Regions from separate parts of the Homo sapiens genome. Here region 1 is linked to region 2. The links are contacts of gene promoters, found by promoter capture Hi-C in blood cells and fetal thymus (Javierre and others, 2016). All regions are on one chromosome and are shown on one strand. The core of a region is centred on a gene start or on the middle of the fragment in contact, and the rest is flanking DNA. Distances in the headings are between cores, read along the strand shown.

What was found. The method cuts DNA at HindIII sites, captures the fragments that hold promoters and counts their contacts. A CHiCAGO score of 5 or more calls a contact.
Region 1: a contact is called between a fragment that was not itself captured here and the fragment with the promoter of CHRNB2 in region 2, in 1 of 17 cell types (total B cells). The highest score is 5.4, in total B cells.

Annotation. Positions count from the first base shown.
Region 1 is chr1:155,168,509-155,171,460 of GRCh38, forward strand. KRTCAP2 (keratinocyte associated protein 2) reads right to left here. Exons shown (of 5, transcript NM_173852.4): 4 at 1,283-1,349; 5 at 900-1,052. The coding sequence ends at 932. Among named protein-coding and RNA genes, the nearest start is that of KRTCAP2, 3.3 kb to the right of the region's middle. The HindIII fragment of the contact is 6,676 bases long and covers 1-2,952 here.
Region 2 is chr1:154,566,512-154,569,330 of GRCh38, forward strand. CHRNB2 (cholinergic receptor nicotinic beta 2 subunit) reads left to right here and starts at 1,267. Exons shown (of 6, transcript NM_000748.3): 1 at 1,267-1,597. The coding sequence starts at 1,534. It overlaps LOC107985206 (a long non-coding RNA gene), which reads right to left and starts at 1,206. Exons shown (of 2, transcript XR_001738238.3): 1 at 913-1,206. RefSeq lists a silencer at 1,438-1,567. The HindIII fragment of the contact is 2,216 bases long and covers 801-2,819 here.

The DNA.
Region 1 (2,952 bases), core at 62-2,561, 600 kb after region 2:
ACCTCAGCCTCCCAAAGTGCTGGGATTACTGGCTTGAGCCACCATGGCTGGCCCAACCCACCAGTCTTTATTGTCCATTATCAGGCTCTGGAAAAAACAAAGCTGACCAAGATGAGGTGTATACCCTAAAACACACGCCATTCAGCACGAGGGACGGCACCTAGGACGGGCACTCTGCATAGAGTTGTTCCTCATGACAGAGCACAGACAGGGCAGGGTGCAAGTAGCCACCTGCATTTCCATCAAGGTGGGCTCAGAGGTTGGTGTCCTTGCTCCTATTGTTTTATATACTTCGCTACAATTTAGGAAGTTCCCATTGTCTTGGCTACAAGATGGGGAAAAAATGAAAGCACCAGAACAAACAGGCTAGGAGCAGTTGATCACCTGGGGAGTCTTTCTAAACACAGCCATATGTTCATGCTGAAGTAGAACAGATAGGTCCCAGGGACAGCATCAGGAGAGAAGTCCCACCTATGCACTTGCAGCAGGGGGCTGATTTGCTTAAGGCAGGGAGCTGGAGTGGCAAAGATACCACGTGGAACCCCGTGAAACAGTGTAGGTATACGGGACCTTTCCTTCCTTTACTCTTTTGCTCCAAGATCCCTTCTGGTACTGACGGACAGGACTTCCTGCATTGCAGCCTTTACCCCTTTCCCCAAAGAACACGACTGCAGAACATTCATGTACTTTTCTTCCATGATGAGACTCACACAAGTATATGCCACTCCAGTGGCACTGACAGTATTCAACAGATAACTGGTAAAAATTAATGTGGGAGGAAGGAAAGCCTCACTATTCCCAAGGTCTGAAAACAGAAGGTGCCCAAATGTCTTAACATTCTGTACATCTAAGCTGGATACTGGTAGATGACACCCACAACATATCACAACTCACAGAGCTACAAAGAATCAACTTTATTGAACATTCAGGGTCAGTTTCTCTTCTTGCTCTTGCCTGTGACCTTGGCTGGTGTGAGGACTGGAGCTGCTGCCTGGTACAGGGTGGAGGAGATCTTGTTGATGTAGTACAGACCAACCATGGAGAAGATGAAGCTATATGGTGAAGACAGAAAGGTCATGGCACCAGTGGGCATCTGCCAGCCTGGTGCCTCCTAGGGAAGACACTAGCATCAAGGAAAGAATCCAAGTTCAAGTTTAGGAAAACGGGGAGGGAGAACAGAGAGAGAGGTAGGTGTGGAAGGAAAAACTCTGGCACCATCACAGTAAGATCCAATGCCAAAAAACGGAATGCTACACCCCTTACCCAGCTGTCAAGAACATACCAGGTGGTGACACAGACTCGGTGGATGAGGCCAGATGCAAAGAGAGCCAACAGGAGGCACAGGAGAACTAGGGAGGCAAGAAGAACAAGGAGGGCAACGGTCAGAATGGAAATACTAGGCATCTGCACATGGAGTCCAGGAGAAATCCGGGGCTCTCTGAATCCTGGGGAACCTGCTTAGAAGGGTAAGCGTGACTACAGCAGGAGGATTCTGATTACCTTAATGATACCCAGAACATGGAGGTAGGAGGTTGAGTGTGGTGGCTTGCACCTGGAATCCCAGCACTTCGGGAGGCTGAGGTGGGCAGATCACTTGAGCCCAGGAGTTTGAGACCAGCCTGAACAACAAAGTGAGACCCATCTCTTAAAAAAAAAAAAAATTGAATTAAAAAAAATTTAGCCAGGTAGTACAGTGGTACACATGCCTGTAGTCCCAGCTATTCAGGAGGCTGAAGTTGGAGGAACCCTTGAGCCAGGAAGTTCAAAGTTGCAGTGAACTGTGATCGCACCACTGCACTCCAGCCTGGGCAACAGAGTGAGACCCCGTCTCCAAAAAAAAAAAAAAAAAAAAAGAACATGGATGTAGATGTATGCTTTTTTTTACCAGCTCTGCCCCATATCTCACATAACTTCCCTACCCTGGCTTTCCTCCCATAAAAGGAAAAAGGAAAGGTGATGGACAACAGAGTCTGAAGGGCAAGGTGTGTTCCCATTTGGGGAACCCAGTTAAACCCTTTCCAAAAGAAGCCAGACAATGAGAGTCAATTCATTAAGCTGGGTGACCAGTGGTGGAAGTTGAAGGCCTTGCTCCCTGGACACAGGTTGGAGGGCAGAGTGCTTGGATCTACTTCTTCATGGGGGCAGGAAAGGATTTTAGGTTACCTGGAATATGATGGGAGAGAAGGTGAGAGGACAAAAGCAAAGACAAACAGGGCCCCACCTGCCCAGGTGGAGAGGGCAGAGAAGGCAAAGTGGGCCAAGAACTTTGCCCCACCACAATGGCATCTTTTCTTTTTTTATTATTTTTTTTTATTTTTGAGGCAGAATCTCACTCTGTCGCCCAGGCTGGAGTGCAGTGGTGCAGTTTCAGCTCACTGCAGCCTTGATCTCCTGGGCTCAAGCGATCATCCCACCTCAGCTTCCCGAGTACCTGGGACTATAGGTGCGTACCACCATGCCCGGCTAATTTTTGTATTTTTTTGGAGAGACAGGGTCTCTCTATGTTGCCCAAGCTGGTCTTGAATTCCTGGGCCCAAGCTATCTGCCAGCCTACACCTCCCAAAGTGCTAGGATTACAGGCGTGTGCCATCCCACCCAGCCAATGGTTTCTTTCAGAAGCAACTGAAAAGCCAGGCACAGTGGCTCACCCCTGTAATCCCAGCACTCTGGGAGGCCAAGACGGGTGGATCACTTAAGGTCAGGAGTTCAAGACCAGCCTAACCAACATGGTGAAATCCTATCTCTACCAAAAATACAAAAATTAGCCAGTTATGGTGGCGCACGCATGTAATCCCAGCTACTCGGGAGGCTGAGGCAGGAGAATCGCTTGAACCTGGGAGGCAGAGGCTCCAGTGAGCTGGGTTCACACCACTGTACTCCAGCATGGGTGACAGAGCGAGACTCCATCTCAAAAAAAAAAAAAAAAAGAAGCAAGTGAAGGTAATACATATG
Region 2 (2,819 bases), core at 17-2,516:
AAGTCACCTCTCCTGGTCCCTAGCTGAGCTTTTAGAGAGAAATTTTCCCTACACATTAAAAAGTGTCAGTCCAGTACTAGCCCTTTTCCTTACCTGTTGAGCCCTTATAATAATATGCCAGGCACTGTGTTGATTCATAATCTAGAGAGGCAGCCACTGCCTCAGGTGGATTCATTTATTCATTGGACATGCTCTGGAAACATATAACAAAGTATCTGATCTAGTTCTTGGTCAGGCGCAGCTTCCTTAAGGAATTGACATTCCTGCCAAATGCTCAAAGTTAAGTAGAAGGTGATGAGGGGAACATGGGTTATAAAAGAGCCCAAGAGAACCATGCATTTAAGTCCCTGAAGTGTGGGGGATGATGGGACGGATAAGATGTTCAAGGATCCTGAAGACCTTGCCAATAGTTGGAATGTGGAGCTGGGGGTGGAGTGACCCAGATGAGGTTGAAGTAAGCAGGGACAAAACAGGACAGAGCCTTGCTGTATGCTAAGTCTGCTTTAGTCAGGAATCTTTTGGTTGAAAGTGACAACGAACCCACTGAAGGAAAAAAAGGGGCTAAGAGTTCAGGGTTCTCATCTTTGGTCTCCTTTGTGTTAGCTTCTCTCTTGATCAGGCCTCTGTGAGTGGTCTCTGATCTCCCTAGTCACACAGAAGCCAACAGCTGGAGTCAAGAGAAGGGGGTGAGGAAGGCCGATGAATAGGGGCTACTTGTCTTTCCACTATTACCCTCAAGTCTACCTTCTTTGCAGGCAAGTCTAGACCTCCTCAGGTAGACCCTCAGTGGGAGGGCAGGAAGCTTAGCCTTTTAGACTCCAAAGCCGTTTGCTTTCTTAAAAATAGCAAACCCACAGCCCCCTATCTCTTTAAGGGGCTAAACACATTTTCTCTGCTGTATCCTCAGCCTACCTGGGGAGCAGGACCATTTGGGTTTGGTAAGAGAAAAAAGGAGGGCGAAAACCCCGGACACTCCTCCTGTCTCCCGACGCTCGTTCTGGCCGTCTGGCCCTCAGTACTAAGCAGGCCCTGACCTACTTGTCTTACTCTTGCTGCTTCTTCCCGCCGGGCCTCTTGCCCCTTCTCCGACCATGCTGCAGGTCCTGCCCCAACTTTAGGACTTCAGAACTCCTCCACCGTGCCGTGGAGGAACAGCCCTTCTTCCACCTCACGCACACCCTACCACGGCAGAACCAATCGAAGACTATCCCAGCCGGGGACCCCCCTTTTTTTTCCTGGGACCCAGCGTTTCCGCCTCCGGGGCGCAGACTCCTCCCCCTCACCGTCCCAATTGTATTCCCTGGAAGAGCAGCCGGAAAAGCCTCCGCCTGCTCATACCAGGATAGGCAAGAAGCTGGTTTCTCCTCGCAGCCGGCTCCCTGAGGCCCAGGAACCACCGCGGCGGCCGGCACCACCTGGACCCAGCTCCAGGCGGGCGCGGCTTCAGCACCACGGACAGCGCCCCACCCGCGGCCCTCCCCCCGGCGGCGCGCTCCAGCCGGTGTAGGCGAGGCAGCGAGCTATGCCCGCGGCATGGCCCGGCGCTGCGGCCCCGTGGCGCTGCTCCTTGGCTTCGGCCTCCTCCGGCTGTGCTCAGGTAAGGGAAAGACGGGCACTGGCCAGGTTCTCCTACCCCAGCCAACGGCCCAAGACTCGCCGCCCTCTGACTCACCCCTGCTAGGCCGGAAGGTGGAAGAAGGGATTCCCTAGAGGTGGGGGAGTCTGCTGGAGGTTAGGGGAGAGCCCCCCGGGACTGCAGAGAGCACCTGGGAGGCTGGACTGGGAACGAGACATACTCGAAGGAGTAAGTGAAGCAAGAAAGAGATGGAAACCTGGCCAGCGGTGGTAGGGGTGGTGCAGGCACAGAGAGCAAGGAGGCAGGGGATCTCCCCAGGCGTCCTGGGGTGGCAGGAGGCCGGCTCTGAGGGCGCTAAGATGCCATCTGACTTTTTGTGAAACATTATCTCAAGAAAGGTACCTGGACCAGCACCCCTCCCCGGGCTCCCCATCGTTTCCCATCCCCCACATTGGGCTCCAGATTCTCGTCACCCCTCAGGGGCAGAGAAGGGGAGAAAACGGAACGGACTTTTCAACCCTCCTGTAGGGTGGGACAGGAGGCTTGGAAGGGAAGAAGCTCTGCCAGGCTGAGGACTAGGAAGGAACTCTCTGAGGGGATGGGGAGGGGTGTGTTCGTGCAGAGTTGCAGAGGGGGATGCAGTGTGCCGGGGAGGGGCAGGTACAAAGGGAATGCACAACTGAATGAGCTTTCCACACCTACAGGCCACCTCTAGGGGTGGGCTGCTGTGTGTGTGAAACTTGGGGCTACATATATGCCTGACCCACAGCTTAGGCAGCCCAGCTATTCCACTCCAACCCAGTGCCTTTAGGGAGAGGGGAGGATGGCATCGTGACCACAGTCACATGTCATTACGTGAGGCACATAATGTCATTTGCACATGTAAATGGTGAACGGGAACAGTTATTTGTGTCCCACCACACATACACTTTCTCCTCAATCGGCAGGAGAAAGGATGTGTGTGGTGGGACACAAATAACTGGGACAAATAACTGTTCACCTTCACTGCCCTGCTAAACCTCCCTTGAGTCATAGGTATTTGCTGGGGAAGCCATGGAAGCAGAAATCTCAAACTGCCCTCTGAGACTTTGGGGGAAGAGCAGGTCTCCATGAATCCTTGCAGAGTGGGTTCTTAGTCTCAAGTCATCTCTGTGGAGCTGTGTAGACTCTTTGGTCAGTGGTCTCAGAGAGGGGCTTTTCTATGAAGACATTAATCTGGGGCCTCCCTGGGGTTAATCTAAGC